Linked DNA regions of Homo sapiens: regions 2, 3, 4, 5 and 6 are each linked to region 1. Evidence: promoter capture Hi-C in 16 types of primary human blood cells and fetal thymus (Javierre and others, 2016). All regions are on one chromosome and are shown on one strand. The core of a region is centred on a gene start or on the middle of the fragment in contact, and the rest is flanking DNA. Distances in the headings are between cores, read along the strand shown. Region 1 holds the start of SH3PXD2A (SH3 and PX domains 2A). Region 2 holds the start of NEURL1-AS1 (NEURL1 antisense RNA 1). Region 3 overlaps CFAP43 (cilia and flagella associated protein 43). Region 4 overlaps CFAP43 (cilia and flagella associated protein 43). Region 5 overlaps NEURL1 (neuralized E3 ubiquitin protein ligase 1). Region 6 has its middle 6.7 kb from the start of SFR1.

Region 1 (3,941 bases), core at 973-3,472:
TTAATAAGAGCTTACTGCGTGCCAGGAACTGGGCTAAGTGCTTTACATAGATGATCTCATTTAATTCTCCCAACAAGTACATACTATTATTATCCTTACTTGAAATTGAGTAAACTGAGGCTGGGGGAGGTTTAAATAACTTGCCAAGGTGGCACAGCTAGTTACTGGCTGCATGCCAGGCTTTGAGCAAGACCGTCTAACTTCAGAACCCCAGCACGCAATCTTGCCTTTCAATCCTGTCTGCAGTGGGCCCCGGTTCTAGTTTGTTACCAGTGTGTCCTGCATCTGCAACCTTGGGCACCATCGGTGGGAGCTGAAATGTGATGTTTCATTTAAAATCCAGAGTTGGAAACGCACCTGCCTGGGTCTCAGAGCAGAGTGCCATCTGTTGAATGCAGTGCCAAGCTCAGCTGAGGACTACAAATGAGAACCCTTAAAACTTAGCCTGCAACATTTGAGAAAAATAAACCCTGGGATATACAAAGGGACATCTGTCCACAGAGCAGGTTGACCACCTGGTGACCCAAGCCCTCCAAAAAGAGCTTTCTTGTAACAGCAGCAGAAAATGCTTGCTGGACCAGATGACACAAAAGAAACAACTCTCTAAGGGTGTCAGGGACTGGACCCGACAGGCACCCACCTCCCTGCCTAGTCAACCTGCCTCCACATTTACCTCCTCCCCATATGAGCCCAGCCGCATTTGCTCAGCTGTAAAGAAACTCAAAGTTCAGAGCTACACTGGTGACAAAGGCAAAAAGAGTAGCCCGAGGCTGACATTGCCACAAACCCCAGTCCCTTTGCAACAGTGGAAGAAAAGGCACTTCAGAGATCAATGTACAATCCAGGGCAGCAACCAGCGCCTGTTTTAACTGTTAAGATTAATGCTTTGAGCACTGGAACTGCTCCTCTAAATACCCAATTTGCAAATAACATGCAGTCCTCTGTGCTTGGGTCTCTTCTATCTCAAGTACAGGAGCACAGACGCTCAGAGGGGTCAAGGACACCGTGTTTACTTCCTAAGGTGTGAGGGATGGGAAGACAGGACCGGCTGAGATGAAAGGGGAACTGTCACATAGGCTCTGGAGCTGCCCCAGTCAACCTTAACCCCTTCTCATTAAAGTTTGGGGGAGGAAGGGGGAGGGGCGGTTCCTCGGAGACCACAGCAAACATTCGCCTCCTCGTGTCTGGAGATGGAGCATCACTTAAGAGGAAATGAACCCGGTTAAGGGTCACGTCCAGAGGAGGGATAAAAGGAAAAGCCACAATTCTCCTCACACCGACGGACACAATGGCTTTATGAGGGAAATCAAAGCTTAGCGCGGAGGGTGGAGGTTGGGCAAGGGGGCGGCGGCTTCCTTCTGCCCCCAGCCCCAGGCCTAGGAAGGCAGAGACAGAGCTGGCGTGGGAGGCAGGGCGCGAGGCTTCCTTCTCCAGGGCGAGCTCTGAAAGCATCTCGGGCTGTGTGAGCGTGAGCGCCCAGGGCCCCTGGGGAGGGCCGAGGAGATGCGCTTTCCCGACGGGGCTGCTCTGTGAGGGGTTGACGAAAGCTCCCCCCACCATCCATCAAAGGCGGACAGATGACTTCACCGTTGTAACAGACAAGGGCAGCCACTTGCCAATTCCAATGCCAAAAAAAGAAACCGGGGGGGCGGGGGTGCGAAGGAGGAAGGACAGAAGAGGCTTCCCTGGAGATCACAGCCCTGCGAAGAAACTCCACGGCTGCTGGCTGCCCAGTGGGCGCTTAGCTTCGCGACCTCACAGCTGGGAGGGGCAAGGGGCCATCCGGGGCCCTCCCGGGACCTCGGGCCACCCCCAGCAGGGTCGGCGGGGGCTGTACTCACGTAGTGCTTGGAGGGGTTCCTCCGCTTCTCCACGTCCACCACGGTGGCATCCTGCACGCAGTAGGCGAGCATCTTCCCCCACAAAGCGAGTGGCGCCCCCGGCGGCGTCACCTTCTCATCCCGGCCGGGCTCCGGCTCCTTCTCCAGCTGCCGGGGTCCCGGGGCCGCCCGCCACCCCGGCCCGGCGCGCCGAACGCTGCCCGGACTCCCGGCGCCCACAGGTCCGGCCCAGGGACGGGGGAGGGTCCCGGAGGGCGCGCGGGCTCCGTGCGCCCCGGGGGACTCCCCGCCGGCCTGCCGCGCGCCCCTTCACTCCCGCGCGGCCGCCGCGCTGCGCTCGCCCGCTCGCTCTCTCCGCCGCCCGGTGGGTCCGGCGGGAACTGGCGGAGCAGAGGAGGGGCGGGGGTGTGTCCCGTCGGCGAGGGGACGGGGCGGGGGCCCCGGAGCCTGCTGTCAGCGTCCTGGGGAGGGGCCGGCGGCTCCCCTTCGCCGCTCTCCGGCTCGGGCTCCGGGGGGATCGGCGCTGGCGGAGGCTGTGGGCGCAGGAGGCGGAGGCAGGGCCTGGCAGGCAGGGAAGGGAAGGGAGGGAGGGGAGAGAGGGGAAGCGCGCGGGGAGGGGCTCCGGGCCGGGGGAGGGGCTCGGGGCGACGGGGAGGGGGCTGCAGCCCGGCCCCAGTGGCAGGGGCGGGCCGACGAGCCCCCACCCGAGCCCAGCGCGCAGCCAGCGGCCTGGCGCAGCACCGGGCTAGTTCGCTAGGCACAAAAACTCAGGGTGGCTTCGGGGGGAGAGGGAGCGGGGAAAGTGAGCCCCGCGCGCCCCCATCCTGGCTTTCCGCCTCGGAGCGGATTTGTGCCTTTTTGTCCCCACTTTTATGTCCCCCTACAACTTCCACCCCCAGATCTCTTTAATGAGAAGTAGTTTATTACCCGGCTGTTACTGCCCAGGCCCCCGAGGAGGAGATGGGAATGGGGAAAAGGCCAGCTTTAAATCCTTCAAGCCAGAGCCTCTTTGGACGAACCACCTGACCCTCTGCAGGTCATAAAGGGTGAATTCTCCCCGGAAAAGTGATCGATTCGTTGCCTGAGTCGTCCATCGATCTGGGCTTGTGTAACTACCCTGTGCATCATTTACCAATGACAACGTTACAGACTCTGCATAACACCACTGCCTTAAGCCCAGGGCTCCCCTGGGGACCCTCCCCAAGCTGGCGACAGGGAAAGGAGCATACAATGGTGGGAAAACCCACCCGGTTGGAGGCCAGCTCACCGTGAGCCCCAGGCTCTGGCATTCTCACCCCTCCCTCTAGTCTGGAAAACCCACTTTCCAAGCCACTTGTCCGTGGTCCCTGGACTTGGAGCACAGTTACTACTTAATTCAATGTAGCTTCCCCCCTTCTAGTTCAACATTTTTTTCCCATTCTGCTTTCAAACATTTAAAGGGTAGTGTTTTCACAACTACTCCAGTTGTTACACAATCACAATAAAGCTTTGTGACTGTGGACCAATGTGAAACATCTGAAAAGAGGACAAATAATTTTGTGACCTAATTGCATTAATACTTTCTTCTGCGCGTTCTCTAGACTGTCAGAACCCAGGCACAGATCTAAGGCTTTATTTATTCACATATTTGCTCCATACAGAGTAACCCACTATTCCTCCAACCTTCCTGGGGAAGGGCGCTAGGACACCAAACGATGGCACGGGACAAAGAAAAAAAAAGATGGATGGGCCTAGGGGGCTCAGACTGTGAGAGATCTTGGCACCAGGCCAGAGCTTCTTGGTCAGAGAAGATGACAGAAAACCTTTGTGAATGTTGGAGCAGGAGTCCTGGGGGAAGGTGCACCTGGTAATGTTGCTCAGCTGATGGGAAAATGGGAGGACAGGGCACTACCTCCATGAGCAAGGATTATTCCCTGAAGGGATGAGAGGTAGACCTGGAACGGGCCCTCCATATTGAGCTCCCGAACTTGGGAGGGTGCTGGCCAGCTCCAGGTCCTCTCTGATGATGGATCAAGACAGCCTGTGAGTTTGTGAGGAAGAGATTCATCATGGCTCTCGGATAACTCGTCTTCTGTGGATGGCAAAGTCTTCTGGAAGTGC
Region 2 (3,941 bases), core at 387-2,886, 340 kb before region 1:
ATGGAGTTAAGAGGGACAAGTTGGAAGACCACTTATGAAGGAAGTGAAGTTGTCTAGGGGAGGGATGCTGAAGCCTGAACTACAGATGTGGTCCAAGAGAGGAAGGAACACGTTTGAAACATATTTAAGAGGTGTGCTTTGGCCGAGTGCGGTGGCTCATGCCTGTAATCCCAGCACTTTGGGAGGCCAAGGCAGGTGGATCACTTGAGTCCAGGAGTTTGAGACCAGCCTGAGCAACATTGCAAAACACCATTTCTACAAAAATATAAAAAATTAGCCGAGTGTGGTGGTGTGCGCCTGTAGTCCCAGCTACTTGGGAGGCTGAGGTGGGAGGATCATTTGAGCCTGGGAGGTGAAGGTTGCAGTGAGCTGAGACTGCACGACTGCACTCCAGCCTGGGTGATAGAGTGAGACCCCATCTCAAAAAAAAAAAAAAAAAGAAAAGAAAAAAATAAAAGGTTGTGTTTGGCAGCACTGATAACTGAATGATGCAGGCGGTGAGAGTGAGGGAATAATCCAAGATTATTCCTGGTGCCAGGTTTTCAGGTGACTGGGAGAATGGTGATCCCATCAGGACCCCAAGCAGAAGGCGGGGGTTGGAGGGAAAGATGATAGGTTGAGTTTTGGCCAGGGTGTGTCAGAAGAGCCCTGAGATATCCTGGGGGAGACGCTGGGTTGGCAACTCCATGTGTGAGCTTGAATCTCAGAAGAGAGATCAGGGCCACAATGAGTTGTCAGCAGTGGGTGTCACTTAAACCATGAGAGTGGTTGAAATATCACAGGGTGGACAGAATGAAACCATGAAGAAGGTGTGGGAGAGGTACAAGGAGAATCAGGAAAGGTCAGAGGGCCAGAGAGGCCAAGGGAGCAGAGTTTAGAGGTATGATATGGCACAGTGCAGTGGTTCTCTAAGGGCCTACGAATTGCCTGGAGAGCTTGGAAAAATGTAGATTCCTCCTCAGGGGACCTGGAATAACCAGTACGATTCTGGAAGAAAGAAAAACCTGGAGGACTTACACTTCCTGATTTATTTACTTTCCTTTCTCCTTTCTCCTTTCTTCCTTCCTCCCTCCCTCCCTCCCTCTCTTCCTTCCTTCCTTCCTTCTTTGGAAGAAAAACCTGGAATACTTACACTTCCTGATTTATTTCCTTTCCTTTTCCTCCCTCCCTCCCTTCCTTTCTTCCTTCCTTCCCTCCATCCTTCCTCCCTCCCTCCCTCCCTTTTCTTTTTTCTTTTTTGAGACAGGGTCCTACTCTGTCACCCAGGCTGGAGTACAGTGGCGTGATCTCGTCTTACTGCAGCCTCCACCTCCTGGGCTCAAGGGATCCTCCCACCTCAGCCTCCTGAGTAGCTGGGACTACCAGCATGTGCTACCACGCTCAGTTGATTTTTAAACTTTTTGTAGAGATGAGGTCTCACTATATTGCTGAGGCTGGTCTTGAACTCCTAGGCTCAAGCGATCCTCCTGCCTTGGCCTCCCAAAGTGTTGGGATTACAGGTGTGAGTCACCATTGTGTGACCTGCCCTATACCATTACTCACCTTCTTCAAACTTCTAATAATAAACAAGAAATACCTACTGTTTAATGACCTCCTACTGTGTACCAGGCCCTGAGCCCCAAGACCCACAGCTCTGACCTCATTTACTCAACACAATGGCTTTGTGAGCTAGGAGCTAGGTGGGTCAGCCTGAGGGGCTGGTTTCCGTAGTGAGTCCTCTCCTGCCCACATCTGGCCTTTGCCTGAGCTGGCCCCAAATTTCATCTCCTCTGTGTCTCCTCTGAGTTGATAGGACTGGAAGCCCCTGGCTGTCTGTAATCAAGTCCACAAAGGTTCATGAGTCAAATCAGAAGTCAATGTACTGTTTCCCAAAGAGAAATTTTCTGTCAGATGGACTTCCTGGCACCTTCTCCCCTGCAGCAGCTCTTTGAGTGCTGGGTGAACTTGCTCTAGGCCTGGCAAGTTGAGAACACAGTCTGAGAGTTCAATGCCTATGGGCTCTGAGCCTTGCCCAGGCCACTTCACCAACAGGGAAATGCCTGCCAGGAGGACCCAACACTTGGGCCTGGCAGGCCACCATCTCCCTGGCTCTGCTCCCGTGGGCCTCACCGCAGTGTGCCTCAGTGACATCCCCTTTTCACCGATCTTTGGCATCCAATGAACACATCTTTTCTTCACCTCCAGCCAGGTATCCTTTATGTCTCTTGAGGGTAACTTTGCATGCCCTGATCCATGAACAGTCAATTTCCTAGACTGAAATTTGGGAAAGCTTATTGCCAAGAGCCATGGACTGGGAGTACCTTATTTTGCCCCTTTCTCCACTTACTGCCCACACAGTTTCAGGAAGGAAGCAGTGGGTTAAGTAAATGATGACGTCTATTCACAGGAATACCTTGCAGCTTTACACATTAATGAGGTACCATGATTTAAAAAAAAAGTCTACTATATTATTAAAAGAGCAAATTGTGTAATATGTATAGTATGGGCCTGTTTGCATTTAGAGTGCTACATTTTTCCTTCCCCCTCTTCCTCTCCCTTCCCTTCCCTCCCTCTCTCTCCCTCTTTTCTTTCATTCCTTTCTTTCAACCAGTATTTAGTCAATGCCTACTGTGTGCCAGGCACTGTTCTAAGTACTAGGATACAGCAGGGAACAAGTCCTCTGTCTCATGGAATTATATTCTTATGAAGAGAGACAGATTTTTAAAACCCAAAAACATGACATATGGATGTCAGATGATGAAAAATGCCCTGGAGAGAAAGAAACCATGAGTGAGGCAGATACAGGGATTATGAGTTGGGGGGTCTGGGGAACAGCACTTTGAATAGGTTGGGCCAGAGAAGACCTGATGGCATTTGCAGGAGGTGAGGGAGTGAGCAGTGCAGGTATCTTGGGGAACAACTCTATTCTGTGGTTCCATACCTTGATATCTACCTGTGCATCTAGTTATCACTCAGACATATTTACTTTGTTTGTTTGTACACACACAGACCAAGGCTGAGTGGATACCCACCCAACTGTTACCAGGGGCTACCTCTGGAGAATTGGCTGGGGTTGAGTAGTGTTGGGGAACGGGATGCTTTTACTCCACACAAATCAGTACTGTTATATTTATTTATTTTTAACAATAAGCACATATTGCTTTTACAGTTTAAACTTTTATAGGCGCAGTGTCTCATGCCTATAATCCCAGCACTTTGGGAGGCTGAGGCGGGTGGATCGCTTGAGGTTAGAAGTTCAAAATCAGCCTGGGCAACATGGTGAAACCCTGTCTCTACTAAAAACACAAAAAAATTAGCTGGGCATGGTGGCGGGTGCCTGTAATCCCAGCTACTCGGGAGGCTAAGGCAGGAGAATTGCTTGAACCTGGAAGATGGAGGTTGCAGTGAGCCGAGATCGTGCCATCACACTCCAGCCTAGGCAACAGAGCAAGACTCTGTCTCAAAAAAAAGAAAGAAAGAAAGAAAGAAAAAAACACTTTTTTAAAAAATGAACTTTTATAGCCCTGTCCCCTCCCAAAAGAGAGTATGGTCAGCAGAGTCGTCTTGCTGCTTTGACCAGTGGTATCAAGGAATAAATGAGATAATTGATACGTGATTGCCAGTGGTTGTGCCTATGTCTAGAAAAGGTTAAATTTTGTTTCCTTCTCATATTCTTCCCCTCAGTGCCCAGGCAGGGCTAGGTATCCAGAAGTGCATAATATAACCACAGTGGAGTCCTGGGCTCACCTGCCTTGGTGCAAGTCCCTGGGAGTCAGTGCCTGGGCTCCACATCGTATGCATCTGAGGGCTGGTCGGGTCTAGTTCCCTCCATAGAGATTAAGGAACCCCTTAAGGGCTTATCCAGAAGATGCCAAATCTCCCTTGAGCCTGTTGTTTTGGGCCACCTGTCCTGGACATCACATTACACCATCGTCATCACTTTTGTCACCATTTTAAACTCT
Region 3 (3,941 bases), core at 493-2,992, 300 kb after region 1:
AATGAGATGGGATATAGGGATTGGGGGAGGAGGCAGGGGGCAGAGGAACTAAGGCAATAAAGCCTGGGAAAGGTGACAGACAGTAGTTTGCATTAGAGTGGTAGCTGTAGAGGTGTCAGAAAAGCAGCTACTTTGAAATAAAAAAGAAGGGACTTAAAAGGGCAGAGGTGTGGTCTCAGGGTACTGCTTTGGGGAGAAAAGGGCAACTCGAAAGAGGAAAGTGCCCTGTGGAGACTTGGGAGTAAAGGGAAAGAAGGAAGAGGTGGAAATTAGGGGGTCATATAGAAACAAAAGAAAAATCATAAAATCGGAAGACACACCAGCCTCTTCCCCATTGCTTAAAGAAGTCAACTGTATATCAAACTGGTAATGTTATCCTCACAGAAAGGGGAAAAAAAGAATTAGTCAAAGTAATTCTAAACATAATATGTTGGTGTATTCTTAGCGGGATATAGTCTAAGAACAAAAAAAAAGCTACTAGGAAATCCGAAAATAGCTATAGTATTTGTTTTGTTTGTTTGGAGGGACTGTTTCTTTATTTCCAAAAAGATACCTGTTAATATTCAGTATCACAATGGTTGCACTATTGGTTTCTCTTTCTCCCAATTGGCCCCAAAGAGACTACATCAAAGAAGAGTACATTTTAAGCCAATAAGCTTCAGGATGTAAACCTAACAGACCTTACACAAAAACCTTACCAAAAAGTGGGGATTGAGTGGGAAAGAATCTTTAAACGATCAGCAAACTGCCAGCCCACAGACTAGAGAGCTCTCACAGTCAAACAGGGTGGCTCGGATGCCACAAACCCAAAGAAGCAAAGTTCCAAAATAATATAAAATTTAAAAGGTTTTGTACATAACTTGTTCAAAATTTGTCCAGCACCAACTGATACCAAGCACAATGATATGGTACTTTTAGAGACAGCAGCTCGAAACCCAGAAAACGGCAAGGAGATGGGGTTTATATGGCTAAATCGGTGGCAAAAACACAATCTTACTTCTTTCTTTCAAGGACGCAGGAGAGCAATTAAGTGGTCCCCTCAACATAAGGGGCACATGATCCATTCTGTAAGCAACTGGCAAGGGGATAGGGATGGGACAAAAATTTGGTCTCAGAGGTCTCACCATCTTAATTTTGGTCACTTCTAATGAAAAAAATAAAACAAGTAAAAATAACATTGTCTAAAGATATCTTAAAGCTGAAAACCTGAACTGCACATTTTTGTTGTTGCTGCTGTTTGGCTAACCCCTCCTGGAATCACCTTTCTGGTTTAGCTGATACTTTGTAGAGAACAAAGTGGTTTCCCACAGGGGAGTCTTTCCCTGGACTCTGTTTAGTTCTCAGTAAGGCAGGCCCATACCTTTTTCCTTCCTCTACAGAGAGGGCAATGTGCATTAAGCTGAAAAGTCACCTTCCAAAAGTGACAAAGGGATTAGACTGCAGAGCTGTAGAAGTATTTGGAATGTTTTACATATGGTTGCTATAAAACAACAAAAAAGGTAATTACAAAATGTGCACATCACAACATGCTTTTAAGGACATTATGCGTTGTGCTCATGTTCCCTTAAATGTTGTTACCAAAGGGGCTCAGCGTCTAGCCCAGCTGGAATCTCTGGGAAGAGGCAGAGATAGTTTGGTGAAAAAAACATAGGGGGTAGATGGGACAGCATTTTTGATAGAGGTATTTTATGTACATTGTAGGACTGAGCAAATCAGTAAGTATATGTGTATTTTGGGAACTAGAGTTTTCACTGAAAAAGGGAGACCTAAATATTAAATGAAGGAAAGAGAAAAGAACCCTGTGCTGTCGAATTGGAATTGAGTTGGAATTGGAGCTAACTGGATGTGTGTGTGTGTGTGTGTGTGTGTGTGTGTGTGTGTGTGAGAGAGAGAGAGAGAGAGAGAGAGAGAGAGAGAATGACTCCTAACCCCTATAGCAAAGAACACATCTGGTATCCAGATCTTGGTCTCTAAATACCAATTGCCAGCAAAAGGAATCCAGGATTCTCTAAAAAGAAAAATAGCTTATTCTTGGTGCCTAAAACATCTTGCTGTGTTAGAAACGGAGAAAGTGCTCAAAAACTGATGAGGACACATGAAAAGGACACAGATGACAACTTGAAGAAGCTCCGAACACTTTGAACAACAGAAATAATAATGATAGTCATGGATTAAAACACATTAAGTTAGAGTATGCCTCTGGTAGGGCAGAGGAAAAGCTCTTCTTTGCAGAAGAATACTAACTAATAAATATAAATGATAAAAGCTAGAAAGGCACCGTTTTGCAATCACTACAGTAATAATTGATTCAGGCAAGGATCATCAATGGATGCCAAAAGACAGAATGAACAGAGAGTCAGATTCAAAATGTCACCCCCACAGGTTAGTTATTACACACGAAGGAGAAAGAGAACTTCTATAACAAAGAAATCTGGAGAAACCTTCTTTCCAGTGATCATACTTAATGTTACCAACAGTGGGACTGACTGAAATCTGGAACCTCCTGATACGATGCACTGAAGACACAGCATCATCTACTTAGTATGATTGTCAGAAATACTGCACCTAAATCTAATCATGAGAAACCAATCAAATTCAACTTGGGGGACATGCCACAAAAAAATAAGCCTCGATTTTTAAAAAATGTCAATGTCATGGAACACAAAGTTGTAGAACTGTTGTGGATTAAAGGAGACTAAAAGAACATTACAAACTAAGTGAAATTGATTAGATTTTTTGATAAACACCAATAAAAAAAGTTATGAAGGACACTACTTGGACAACAGGGTAATCTGAATATAGACTTAATTAGATAATCATATTAATATTAAGCTTCTTTTGTATGATAATTTTACTGTGGTTATGTAGAAGAATATTTTTGTTCTTAGGAGGTTTAAGCTGTAATATTTAGGAATATCATGATATCTGTGATTTGTCTCCAACTATTCAGGAGAAAAAGAGAACAAATGTGGCAATATAAAAAACTGATGTGCACAGGTATACATATACAATATATATATAACATATACGTAATATATATGCCATTGGTACAAATATATGGTATATAGATGGTACTATTCATGTAACATTTATGTACATTTGAATAATTCTAAAATAAAAATTGGTGAAAAAAATAATCCAATGTTAGGGAAGTAAGTGGAGGTATAAAATGAATTAAGATTGGCCGTGAGTAGATAATTGCGGAAGCTGGATAAAGGGGTCATTATACTGTTCTCTCTATTTTTATACATGTTTGACATTTTCCACGATACAAGATTTTTTTTTTACTTGAGAGAGAAATTGAAAACCATCAACATAGATTTTTTTGAGTTTTGCAGTAAAGGAGAGCAGAGACATTGAGTGATCCAGGGGGAAAGAGAGGCCAAAGGAGTTGGGTTTTTTCCTTTTACTTTTTGTTTTGAAATAAATTTATACTGACCCAAATATCACAAGAACAGTAGAAAGAACTCAAGCATTTCCTTCCAGGAAGTATTTTTTTAATAAGATGAGAGATGTATACAATTATAGCATGTGTCTACACTGATGGGGAAAATCCACAGGGTGGGAAAAATTGATGATGCAGGAAAGAAGAGGGTAAACTGATGAGTAATGACATTGAGTAGGTGAGATGGGATGGTGACTAGTGCACCAGGAGAGGACCAGGCTTAGGTGGATGCAAGGCCATTTCACCCATAAGAAGCAGAAAGGCAGACGCCATGGATTCAGTGGAGCTGGCGGGTGGATGCAGCAGTAGAGGAGTAAGGGAAATAACTTTTAGTTGTCTCTCTTCTCTTAGTAAAATAGAAAATAAGGTGAGAGTGAGTTGAGGGCGTCAGGTGTTGAAAGTTTGGGAGATGCGCAACGGGTGTGAAATGGTACTCTAGGATCCTGCTACTTAAAGTAGGGTCCACTGGACAGCAATAGCCTATTTGGAGTGCAAA
Region 4 (3,941 bases), core at 568-3,067, 280 kb after region 1:
CATGAATAGCCAAAACAATATTGAAAACAAAAAGTTGGATGGCTAACATTTCCCTACTTCAAAGAAGAAAACAGGGACTGAGGCCAGGCACAGTGGCTCACGCCTGTAATCCCAGCACTTTGGGAGGCTGAGGCAGGCAGATCACCTGAGGTCAGGAGTTTGAGACCAGCCTGGCCAACAAGGTGAAACCCTGTCTCTACTAAAAATACAAAAATTAGCTGGGCATGGTGGTGGGCGCCTGTAAATCCCAGCTACTCAGGAGGCTGAGGCAGGAGAATCGCTTGAATCCGGGACATGGAGGTTGCAGTGAGCCAAGATCATACCACTGTGCTCCAGCCTGGGAGACAGAGCGAGAATCCATTTCTCCATTTCAAAAAAAAAAAAAAAAAAAAGAAGAAAAGAAAAGAAGAAAGAAAACAGGGATAAATCTTCATGACTTCAGATTTGATTCTTAGATATTTACTTATTTTATTTTATTTTATTTTATTTTATTTTATTTTTTGAGACAGAGTCTTACTCTGCCACCCAGGCTGGAGTGCAGTGGCGCCATCTCGCCTCACTGCAACCTCCGCCTCCCGAGTTCAAGTGAGTCTCCTGCCTCAGCCTCCTGAGTGGCTGGGATTACAGGTGCCTGCCACCATGCCCGGCTAATTTTTGTATTTTTAGTAGAGACGGGGTTTCACATCTTGGCCAGGCTGGTCTTAAACTCCTGACCTCAGGTGATCCCACCTCAGCTTCCCAAAGTGCTGGGATTACAGGCATGAGCCACCGCACACGGCCTGATTCTTAGATTTAACACCAAAAACATGAGACAATCCACAGAAGGGGATAAAATATTGGCAAATTATATAAGGGTTTAATGTCCAGAACATATAAAAAACTCCTATAACTCAACAACAAAACCTAATTTGAAAATGGGCAAAAGACTTCAGTAGTCATTTGTCCAAAGATATACAAATGGTCAACAAGCATATGAAAAGATGCTCAATGTCATTAGTCATTAGAGAAATTTACATCAAGAATAAACCCACTAAGATGGCTGTAATTAAAAAGCAAGCAAGCAAACAACAAAAAAGAGAAACAATAACAAGTTTTGATAGGGACGTAGAGAAAGTGAAACCCACATACTTTGCTGGTGGGAATATGAAATGGTGCAGCTACTATGGAAAACAGTTTTTAGTGCCTCAATCAGTTAAACATACAATGACCATACGATCCAGCAATTCCACTTCTAGGTATATATCCCCAGAGAACTGAAAACAGGTTTTCAAAAACTTGTGCATGAACAGTTATAGGCACCACAATAGCCAAAAGGTGGAAATAGCCCAAATATTCACCAGCTGATGAATGGATAAACAAAATGTATATCCATAAAATGAAATATGATTTGGTCACAAAAGAAGAATGAAGACTGATACATGCTACAACATGGTTAAATCTTAAAAACATGCTAAGTGAAAGAAGCCAGAAAACAAAGGCCACATATTGTATGATTCCATTCATACAAAATACTAAGAATAGGCAAATCCATACAGAAAATGCAGATTAGTGGTGTCCAGGGGCTAAGGGAAGAGGTGGATGGGGAATAATTGCTTAATGGGTGTGGGGTTTCCTTTTAGGATGATAAAAAATGTTCTGAGGCCGGGTGGGGTGCCTCACTCCTGTAATTCCAGCACTTTGGGAGGCTAAGGCAGGAGGATCGCTTGAGCCCAGGAGTTTGAGACCAGCCTGGGCAACATGGTGAAACCCCATCTCTACCAAAAAAATATAAAAATTAGCCAGGTGTGGTGGCACGTGCCTGTAATTCCAGCTACTGAGGTGGGAGAATGGCTTCAGTCTGGGAGGCGGAGGCTGCAGTGAGCTGAGATCATGCTCCGGCACTCCAGCCCAGATGACAGAGCCAGACCCTGTCTCAAAAAACAAAAAACAAAACAAAACAAAAATGTTCTGGAACTAGATAGCAGTACTAGCTGCACAACTTTGCGATGTATTAATTGCCACTGACTTGCACACTTTAAATGGTTAAAATAGTACATTTTATGTTATGTGTATTATACCACAATAAAAATATCTCTAAAAAACTAAGTTACAAAGCAATCAACACACCTAGATCAGAGATGACAGGTGTTAGAACTATCAGATGGGAAATTTAAAATAATTATGACTAATTTCCTTATAAAGAGTATAGCATGGAACAGTGGAGAAAAAGTAACTTTATAGTAAAGAAGCCTGACAAAACTCTACCTCAATTCAGGTGGTCAAGATTCAATAAACAGTGATGACATGTTGATAGCATGTATCCTTGAAATCATGTGCTGAGAGGGCATTTTACCTCTGTGGTCTCTTTCTCCATACTCCAGGCGAATAGTGATAAATACATCAGAGAAACCACAGTTGAGGGACATTCCACAAAATAACTGACTATTACTCTACAATAAACTGTCAAGGTCATCAAAAACAAGACAAAACTGAGAAACTGTCACTATCTAGAAAGAAATGACAACTGGCCGGTGGCACGGTGGCTCAGGCTTGTAATCCCAACACTTTGGGAGGCTGAGGTGGGCGGATCACCTGAGGTTGGTAGTTCGAGACCAGCCTGACCAACATGGAGAAACCCCGCCTCTACTGAAAATACAAAATTAGCCAGGTGTGGTGGCGCATGCCTGTAATCCCAGCTACTCGGGAGGCTGAGGCAGTAGAATCGCTTGAACCCAGAAGGTGGAGGTTGCAGTGACCTGAGATAGTGCCATTGCACACCAGCCTGGGCAATAAGAGCAAAGCTCAGTCTAAAAAGAAAAAAAAAAAAAGAAAGACATGACAACTAAATAAAATGCATCCTGATGAGATCCTGGAACAGAAAAATGACCTTAAGTAAAAACTAAGGAAAAGTGAATAAAGTTTGTACTTTAGTTAATAATAATGTGTCAATATTAGTTCAATAGTTGTGGCAAATGTACCATACTGATGGAAAATAATAAAATATAAGAAACTGGATAAGGGGTATATGAGAATTCTCTGTACTATCTTTACAACTTTTCTAAAACAAAAATTTTTGGAAAGGATAGACAACATGCATGAACAAATGGGGAATTTCAGCAGAGGGATGGAAAGTATAAGTTAAACAGAAATACTAAATGTAAGTCTATCTATCTGTCTGTCTATCTATCTATCTATCTACAATAATATGGTAACAGATATTTTGCCTTTGATGGGCTCATTATCAGACTAGACACAGCATAAGAATGAATGAACTTGAATATAGGGCAATAGTAATTACCCAAACTGAAACATAAAGAGAACAAAGAGTGAAAAACAATGAGTATGGAATATCTAAGAGATGTGGAACAGTATCAGACAATCTGACACGTGTGTAATTGGAATCCCAGTAGAAAAAGAGAGAGCGAAAGGGGCAGAAGAAATATTCAGAGATAATAAATAAGAATTTTCCAAAGATAATGACAAATATCAAATCACAGATTGAGGAAGCTCAGAGAAGCTCAAGAATCTCACGCACACATGTGCATACCGCCCCCTATCCCCACCTAGACACATTGTGTTCAAACTGCTGAAAAACAAATAAAAAATCTCAAAGCCAGACACATTAAATTCAGATGAACAAAGATAAAAAATATAGCAGAAACCTTGTCAGAAACTATCTAGATGTTCAGAAGAAAATGAACATCTTTAAAATGAAAAGAGAGAGAGAGAGAACAAATGAACGAACCTGGCAATCCAGTGAATCTAGCAAAGTATCTTTCAACAATGAAGGTGATTAAAAACTTTTTCAGATAAAGAAAAATGGAGAGAATTCATTACTAGCAGGCTTGTACTTCAATTAAGTTAAAGGAAGTTCTTTAAGCAGAAGGTAAATGATACAAGATGGAAATTTGGATCTACACAATGAAATAAAGATCTTTTGAAATAGTGAAAATTAAGGTAAA
Region 5 (3,941 bases), core at 889-3,388, 280 kb before region 1:
CCTGTGCACTCTAGTTTTCTACCACAATGAATATATATCAAGTTGAACCATATGTAATCACCAGTATTGGACTGTTTTTAACTTACAAGAAAGGCAATCTCATGTTTGCCCCTAGCATCTCTTGGGCCCAAGAGATTGTACTGGGGCCTTGGAGAGAGTGGTGGGGCTCAGGGTGGGGTGTATGTGGAGGGAGGAGCTCGGGCCTTGCAGTATTGGGGACAATGCCTTCATTTAAGATGCAGGAGACCCACTGAATCAAGGCTTGACTTGGCCACTCATTAGCTCTGGGCAGTTCTCAGCTTCTCTGTGCTTCAGCCTCCTCATTATTTGGGCATAATTATACACACCCCACTTACCTCACAGATGTGGAAAGGCATTTACACAAATGAGAAGGGCTTTTGTCTTTAGGTTAAAAAGGAATACCTAATTTAAAGACACCGCCCTCCACGGCCAAAAAAGCCAACCCCTCAAACCAGCTCTTCAACTAGAAGAGGGAGCCTTGAACCCAGGTCTCTGTATCGGGCTGAAAGGAAAACCATGCAATCGAAATTGCTCCTTGGAACAAGATCTGTGCTTCTCCAGCTGGGTTCCTTGGAACACTGGGGTTCCACAGAGGTGTCTTGGAGGCTGCAGAGAAGGCCAGAGAGAGGGTGAGGGGATAGGTGCTAGGTCCACCTCCTAGACTTCAGCCAGAACTTGGGGTTCTGTTGGACAAAAGGATTCCACTGCTTTTTAAAAAAGTTTGAGACCCACTAGACCAGATGATTCTATAAATCTATGAGATCCCGTGGCTTGAAGATTCTCTGAATCTTAAAGTCTGTGACTGTGAGTGATTTTAGGATGTTCTGCCCTTCCCTCTGTGAGCCCCAGAAAGCATGTTTGTTTCTCCTAAATTTCCCATGGTTGGGTTTAAAGGGAGAGGGTGGAGGTGGGTGCTGGGAGGGGTGGAGAACCCCCTTGCCTGTCTAAGCCAGGCACCCGCACTTCCCGGCTCCCTCCCATGCCCCGTGCCAGATGCGGACCAGCAGGAGGATGTTTGTGGAGACAGTAAAGGGCTGGCAGCGCCTCCCAAACAGGGGCCAGCAGATACCTGCTAGCAAGCCAGGCGGCTGCAGGCTGACCTGTGGTTACAGATTAGCCAGTGCTCCGGATGTGAGAACGTCAACAAATGGGACTCTCAGGCTGACGGCAAGCTCTGCCTCAAAGGAGGCCCCGGCCTGCCCTGAGGTCCCCCACGCCCAGGTCCTGCCTTGGTTACCCTGCACTGCTGGCAGCGTATGGCAGGGCCGGGTGGCTTTCTGGGCAACAGCAAGCCCTGGGGCCCTCCTCAGTCTGTCTCCTCCCGCTCCCACTCCTGCTCTTCACCAGGTGTTTGCTAACAGTTTTCTCACCTGTCAACCCAAACCCTCCTGTGTTTCAGCTCAGGTCAACTCCTGTGTCGTCCAGAATACCTTCCCTAGCCCACTCTGAAACAGGAAGGGGACTTCAGCCTTAGTTGGGGATCTTGATCCTAAAGGGGTTATTTACTGTAAAGGAGAGAAGACTCAGAGGGAGCCCCAAGGAGGGTATCTGGGATACATATGGATTCCCACCAGGAGAGTTTTTCTAAGTCATGGTTATTCCAAGGTGGGGAATAGGTAGCCTTGGGAGATGGTAAACTTCCTGACCCTAGGGCCATTCTAGCCTCTAGCTGAGAGATTGGCAGGGATAAATGGATTTCCTAGTACCTTAGTTCCTCGAAAGTCCTGTCTAATCCTAGATACTAAGACTCTGGTAACTGAATTGTATTCAAATATTTTCCTGACTTCGGGGCAGGCATGGTGGCTCACACCTGTAATCTCAGCACTTTGGGAGGCTGAGGCCAGCAGATCACTTGAGCTGAGGAGTTCGAAACCAGCCTGGGAAACCTAGTGAAACCCTGTCTCTACAAAAAATACAAAAATTAGCCAGGCGTGGTGGTGTGCACCTGTAGTCCCAGCCACTTTGGAGGCTGAGGCACAAGAATCGCTTGAACCTGGGAGGCAGAGGATGCAGTGAGTGAGCCTAGATCGTGCCACTGCACTCCAGCCTGGGGAACAGAGCGAGACCCCGTATCAAAAAATAATAATAATAAAAAAAACATGTCCTGCCTTTAAGCCTTGCCCCTTCCACTGACTCTTGGCTCCCAGGGCCCAGTTCCTGGCTCCTCCCTCTCCCAGACTCCCTGCCCAGGGCTGGGCACACAGTAGGTCAGTGAGTAGGGCCCCCAGCACCACCTAGAGGAGGGGAAACACATGGCCGGGACCTCCCTGCCCTGGCAGGGTCTGCTTATTTTTGCTCTGGCCCAGGGTGTTGGTAGAGCCACTGCCGGGCACCAGAACAGGCAAGAGCTGAAGACTGACAGGTTCTTTCCTGAATGATGGGACATGCAAGGGTAGTCAGCTTAGCGGCTTCTCCTCATGGCCTTGTGCCATCTCTGTTCCCATCATAAACACCTCCAAAGCAGGTGGGCACGTGTCCCGGCACCGATTATGTAACTTGTTGCTTCCGAATGTGGGGCCACCCCACTGCTTGGGGTGAGAGGTTGCCCATCTGGTTTTTCTAAGCCTTACCCATCAAGTGGTGCAGTCTTGGGCCGAGGTTGGTCCCATGGTGTTCTCCCATGGCTTGGGGCCCCAAACACTGCCCTGACCTCTAACTTGGTATCAGCTCACTCAACTGTGACCTTTGCCGTCCCTTCTGCGGAGGGTGTTCTAACCAGCTCCTGTGTCTCGAGTTTCATCTATTTCAGGGCTTCGACACAGCTGGGCTCACTGATGGGATGGTTATTTTGGAGCTGCTGGCTGCCTGCAGCTGCTCCTGACCCTGAGGGGTGGAGAGGGAGAGAAGACAGACTTGGGCTGGGCACTGGCCCTAGGGATTCGTTCCGTTTTTAGCTGTTTCCCAGCAGCTTTTGTCCCTCCCCTCCCAACTCTAGCAAGATTTCAAGCAAGGCTAAAGGGATCCTCTTCCTACCCCCTTCTCTTTGTACATCCTCCACTGTTTCTCCTTTCTTTCTTCTTTATCCTCTCACCTCTACATTTTAGCTGCTGCTTCTTGGTCTTTGGTGATTTCATTCAATGAGTATTTCCTGGGTACCCATCATGACTGATGTGAAATCCTGCATTAAGGTTCAAAAAGCCCATGGTCTGAGGACAGGTGTACCTGACTTTTAGTTGAGACTGTGCTCAAGCCAAGCAAATACTAATATCTGAAGTTATCGGGTAGCTTCTGGGTGCTGGGGGTGGTCCCACTTTACCTCGGATCTTTCCAACAACAACTCAGGGCAGGTATTATTACCCCTATTCTCTAGGTGAGAAATTTGAGGCTGGGAGGAAGGTTGCTTACCCAAAAGCCACCAGCCAAGTGCTGGATCAGACATTTAAACCTAGGCCTGATCCAGACCTGGATCACCCCAAAGCCCATGCACTTTCTTCTGAATCATGTGGCATTTCACATGCCAATAACAACGGCTTATATTAACCTAATGACTGTGCCAGGTCTCCTATTAGGTGCCCTGTGTACCTTACTCCTTTTCATCCTCACAGCGTCTCTTCTAAGGGGAGTATTAGATACAGATTTTATGTAAATCAGTAGATGCTGATTTCACTGCTGAAGAGGCCCCAAGAAGTTCAGCTATTTGTCCAGTCATATAGCCCTGTCATACAGGAAATGGCAGGGCCAGGATTTGAACCTAGACTGATGACTTCAAATTCATTGCACTTAACTGTGCTCCTGTCCTGCCTACTAGTATATGAATGTTGGTTACTGAAAAAAACCTAATGTACTTTTAGGTTGCATTATTAGAAGTATAGCATATATACCAAGGGAGGTGATGGCCACACTATGCCTTGAGCTGGTTGGTGCACATCTAGAGTACTGAGTCTGGTTTTGTTCATTATCTAAGAGGTGGGAAGGTGTGT
Region 6 (3,941 bases), core at 988-3,487, 260 kb after region 1:
AATTATACTACCTCTCACAGAAGATTTGGGTAAGGGGGAGAAAAGACAAAGCTGTTAAAACCCATCCCATTGTGAACAAAGGCACCACTTTCAAAGATGGCCAATATCATCATCTGGAAAGGAACCACATGTTTCCTGTATGTTTCTAGTCTGGTAAAAGTAATCTTCCTTGGTCCAATGACAGAACAATACAAAGCAATGATAAGAAATAATTAGAAAACATACAGCTGAACGGTTTATATTAGATTTGAGGAACAGTTTTCCCCTTAGAGAAGCTGTTACACAAGGTATCAGTTGCATCAAAAATATTCTTCCCTGGAGACTGCTACAGCATCACTTCCTCTTCTTATTTTGGGATGCTCACTTTCTGAATTACTGATTAAATAATTAATCAATTCATTCTGAAATTCACCCATTCAAAACATTTATTGAGCACCAACTCTATGCATCCAGTGTTAATAAAGACAGGGACATGAGTTCCAGAAGATGACAGTACAAGTAAGCAAAATAACTTGGAGTATGCCCTGCAATGGCAAGAGGTGGTTGATGAGAGTAGCCTAAAACCCTGGGCTTGAAAGGGTTCGATTAGGATAATGTGGGAGGCCTGCGAAGAGGAAAGAAAGGTCACTGGAAAAAAAAAAACAAAAACTTCTGTGTGCTAGTTTTTCCCAGAGCTGGCTCTGGTTTAATCAATGTGATAAATACTGGTGTCCATTTGTAAACTCCTAAAGAATATATTTATTTTTCCGTCTACAGCACCTAATACATCTTCCATCATATTATCATAATGGTTATTTCTATAGAGAATTTTACCCGTAACTTCATTTAACACTCTGGTGGGAAGTGGTAATTTCAGGTGTACCAAAATGACCCCACCTGGAATTGTAGGAACTAACTCAGAGCCAGGGAAAGATCACTTTTCTCTTCACAATTTATAGATGAGAAAACTGAATTGAACCCCCCAAAGTCAATACAGCTCGTTAGTTTTTAGTGATAGGGTCAGTAAATAACTCAGATGCTCTGACTCAGGCCTATCCCTTGCTGCAGCCATATTTCCAAGAGAATGAATGACTTGGAGAAAAATGTTGTAAACATCAATGAGTGTCATTTTTATTCACCAAAACTTGTATTCAAACAAAAATTCCAAAGACTTCCCAATTTTCCTCAATTTAAACTGACAACCCATGATTATCTCATGTTTAGTACAGATTTAAGCAACCTCACCTTCACAGTTTGTGACCACAGCCCATTTCATCCCCAATTGACTCCATACAGCAAAAAAACTCAACAAAGACAAGATTTGGAATGAAAAAAAAAAAAAAAAAACAAATAAGTAAGGTCTGTGGCTTTATGGCTTTACTCATTCAAAATTTCACCTACTGTGAAATGGCTTATCTAAGTTACAAGGTATAATCAAGTTTAACCTGATCATTATAATATTCCACCAGTGCTAAGAAAGTACACATGTATCTGTAATGCATGCTTATACCTGTATTAAACACAAAATCTTGAACTTCCATAATCCTTTTAACTCAAATGTATCAAAAGGCCTTAAGAACATGACGAATACATTTCTCATTAAGAAAGAAATCATGACTTTGTCAGAATTTAGCCCAAATTAAGCGTGCCCAGGATTCTTGGTGTTTGAGCTGATGCTGAGGCCTTAAAACCCAGGTCAAATCTGCAGAATAACTTTAGTATGGAGTAAACAAGCCTAGTAATCAGTAATTTGTTATGAAAAACATCATTTTGGAACACTAGTTTTTGTTCTGCTTAAGGGCAAGAAACATGTAGTAAATATAGCCCCCTTCCCTCCCTTCCTTCCCTACTGCCCCTACCTCCTCAATTCTTCCCTCTCCTCCTGCACAATTCTTGGCAGAAAATATTTGAACACTCAAGACAACTGACTTCAGTTATGAACACAGTAGTCCAAGAAAGCTTCCTGTAATCTCAGTTTGAGCAGTTATTGATTGGAAGTTGAGGGGTTTCTAAGACTTGCCTTGAGAACTGTTAGTTAGTATGCAAATGTTTAATTTCAGCTTCATAAGTATTCTCATTAGTCCATGTAATTCTTACCTGTAGTGGTTCAAACCTGTGATTACATGCTATTTTTTACCCATCAAAATCAAGTCACTATAGGTACTGGCTTACTGCATCTAGTGCTTGATATGTCTGAATTTCTCTTTCTCACATTTGATTTGGGGACTTAATCCCATTCTGAGCACGAAGGAATTTTATCTAGATTGAGGGGAGCAATAAAACTGATTCTTCTCAACTATAAAAATGAAAAGTATTCATAGACATATTGGTGGGCAAATGTGGTTGATTGATTCATTCCAAAAACTAGTGACTGAAAATAAACTGCTATCCTTGCAGACAATTACTGAAATAAAACACAGTCAGCTTTACATCTCTTCAAAACCTGTGGGAAACAGCTCTGAGTGAAAATAATATATACTGGTAAAACTGCTTTTTTAAATAAGAGAGACATCTTGCAAAAGATTCAAACTCATTCTTTTCAGGGCAACTTAATTACACAAGCTTTATGCTAATTATTGTTACATTAAAGATTTGGCAGCTTTACAAAAATCCTAAACTTGTACATGCAGGTTTAAAATCTCTATTTTAATTCTCCAGAGTTAGACTAGGAAAGCATTTCAGACAATGCCAACCTGTAGTAATGCTTGCTTTTTTTTTTTTTTTTTTTAACCTATCGGTACCTCATAGTTTCATAGGAATTTGCTTAACAAATCTGGACGTAATTAGTTGCCTGGCCTCCAAAACCCAAACCTGTATTCTTTGGTATCATGGGATGCTGTTTGCCAAATGACAGGCCTCCAAAAGCCTGACCATCCTAAAGACCATCTTTGCTGGTGGGTGTTATTCCTGTGCTTAGTATGAATTCCCTTCACACCAGACCTTCAGCAACAGAGGTGTGTTTTCAATATCCAGCATTCATAAAAGGGTGTAGATTCATGTCATACCAGAGCAGAAGAAAGGGAGTAAACAGTAAAATGGAGATATATTAAGCCATCATTCCCATGTAGTAGGGAGTGTTAGAAAACAATTGTTTAAATCACCCTTCTCTTGATTAAAATAATAATAATAAAAGAAAGGTTTCAAAGTGGCTGTAAGAAGAGGACAAGTTGACTCAGAGGTAGGTACTTAAATCAAGTGAAAAATAGCTTAGATAATGTGCTTGATAGATGATATAACAACCAGAGTGGAACATAAGGGGAAACTTTGTGGGGTGGGACAGTTTGGAAAGGTTTGAATTAAAGGTTTACATTGTTGAAGGAAAAGTATTATCTGTCTTAATCTTGTGCTAATAAAGTCTAAATAGCTGGGTGAAATCTTAGAGGACTATGTCAGAGTGAATGATTTTTTATTCTATACTTCTTTTCCAAGATCCTATTTCTGTAAGAAAGACATATTTTTAGTATCTGTAAGAAAGACATATTTTTAGTATCAAAAAGTAATAATATCACTTGCCAGTTGAGGATCACCAGCATCATCATCAAACTTTATACATTATATGTGGGTAGCCACAGATGTGTCATGGAGGTGGAGAGCTGAGTGATGTTGCTGTCACTGACAAGTGGTATAATTTAGACACAGTATGGGGGACATGAGCACTCGACACAATCTTGCAGGTGGAAGGGAGAGGATCCATGAAGAGGTGTCTTTGCTCAAGCCACCTTGCCCGTCTTTGATCATGCCTCTCCACCTGGTCCTCACGGGGGCTTCAGAAGTTCTGGTCAGGGGCTCTGCATTCAGCAGGTTTGACGCTGCTCCTAAAGGTTGATGGTGTTAATGTAATGTTACTTTGCCTTTGGGAGTGGAGACGTAGTGTTTTCTCCTGATTGGTAGAGTGGTGGGAAAGGGATTAAACTTCATTCTAGCTCTCAGCTCCTGACGTGAGCCAGAAAATTTCTGGTTAG

Evidence for each region. Contacts are between HindIII fragments. The CHiCAGO score rates a contact against its expected background, and 5 or more counts as called.
Region 2: the fragment with the promoter of NEURL1-AS1 here is called in contact with the fragment with the promoter of SH3PXD2A in region 1 in 2 of 17 cell types (M1 macrophages and erythroblasts); the score reaches 5.2 in M1 macrophages.
Region 3: a fragment that was not itself captured here is called in contact with the fragment with the promoter of SH3PXD2A in region 1 in 2 of 17 cell types (activated CD4 T cells and naive CD8 T cells); the score reaches 5.9 in activated CD4 T cells.
Region 4: a fragment that was not itself captured here is called in contact with the fragment with the promoter of SH3PXD2A in region 1 in 2 of 17 cell types (total CD4 T cells and fetal thymus); the score reaches 6.5 in total CD4 T cells.
Region 5: a fragment that was not itself captured here is called in contact with the fragment with the promoter of SH3PXD2A in region 1 in 3 of 17 cell types (M1 macrophages, M0 macrophages and endothelial precursors); the score reaches 10.1 in M1 macrophages.
Region 6: a contact is called between a fragment that was not itself captured here and the fragment with the promoter of SH3PXD2A in region 1, in 1 of 17 cell types (non-activated CD4 T cells). The highest score is 5.2, in non-activated CD4 T cells.

What each region holds. Positions count from the first base shown.
Region 1 is chr10:103,853,354-103,857,294 of GRCh38, forward strand. It overlaps SH3PXD2A (SH3 and PX domains 2A), which reads right to left and starts at 2,223. Exons shown (of 15, transcript NM_001394015.1): 1 at 1,842-2,223. The coding sequence starts at 1,913. The HindIII fragment of the contact is 2,015 bases long and covers 1,311-3,325 here.
Region 2 is chr10:103,515,806-103,519,746 of GRCh38, forward strand. It overlaps NEURL1-AS1 (NEURL1 antisense RNA 1), which reads right to left and starts at 1,637. Exons shown (of 4, transcript NR_120675.1): 1 at 1,581-1,637. The region is part of intron 1 of NEURL1 (neuralized E3 ubiquitin protein ligase 1); the gene reads left to right. The HindIII fragment of the contact is 6,397 bases long and covers 1-2,267 here.
Region 3 is chr10:104,155,893-104,159,833 of GRCh38, forward strand. The region is part of intron 27 of CFAP43 (cilia and flagella associated protein 43); the gene reads right to left. It also overlaps the pseudogene LOC751602. Among named protein-coding and RNA genes, the nearest start is that of SFR1, 36 kb to the left of the region's middle. RefSeq lists an enhancer at 1-203. The HindIII fragment of the contact is 2,176 bases long and covers 655-2,830 here.
Region 4 is chr10:104,135,887-104,139,827 of GRCh38, forward strand. The region is part of intron 34 of CFAP43 (cilia and flagella associated protein 43); the gene reads right to left. Among named protein-coding and RNA genes, the nearest start is that of SFR1, 16 kb to the left of the region's middle. The HindIII fragment of the contact is 4,816 bases long and covers 1-3,941 here.
Region 5 is chr10:103,577,851-103,581,791 of GRCh38, forward strand. The region is part of intron 3 of NEURL1 (neuralized E3 ubiquitin protein ligase 1); the gene reads left to right. LOC124902496 (a long non-coding RNA gene) reads right to left here. Exons shown (of 3, transcript XR_007062277.1): 3 at 2,121-3,139. Among named protein-coding and RNA genes, the nearest start is that of NEURL1-AS1, 62 kb to the left of the region's middle. The HindIII fragment of the contact is 5,414 bases long and covers 1-3,941 here.
Region 6 is chr10:104,113,455-104,117,395 of GRCh38, forward strand. No RefSeq gene overlaps it. Among named protein-coding and RNA genes, the nearest start is that of SFR1, 6.7 kb to the right of the region's middle. The HindIII fragment of the contact is 603 bases long and covers 1,937-2,539 here.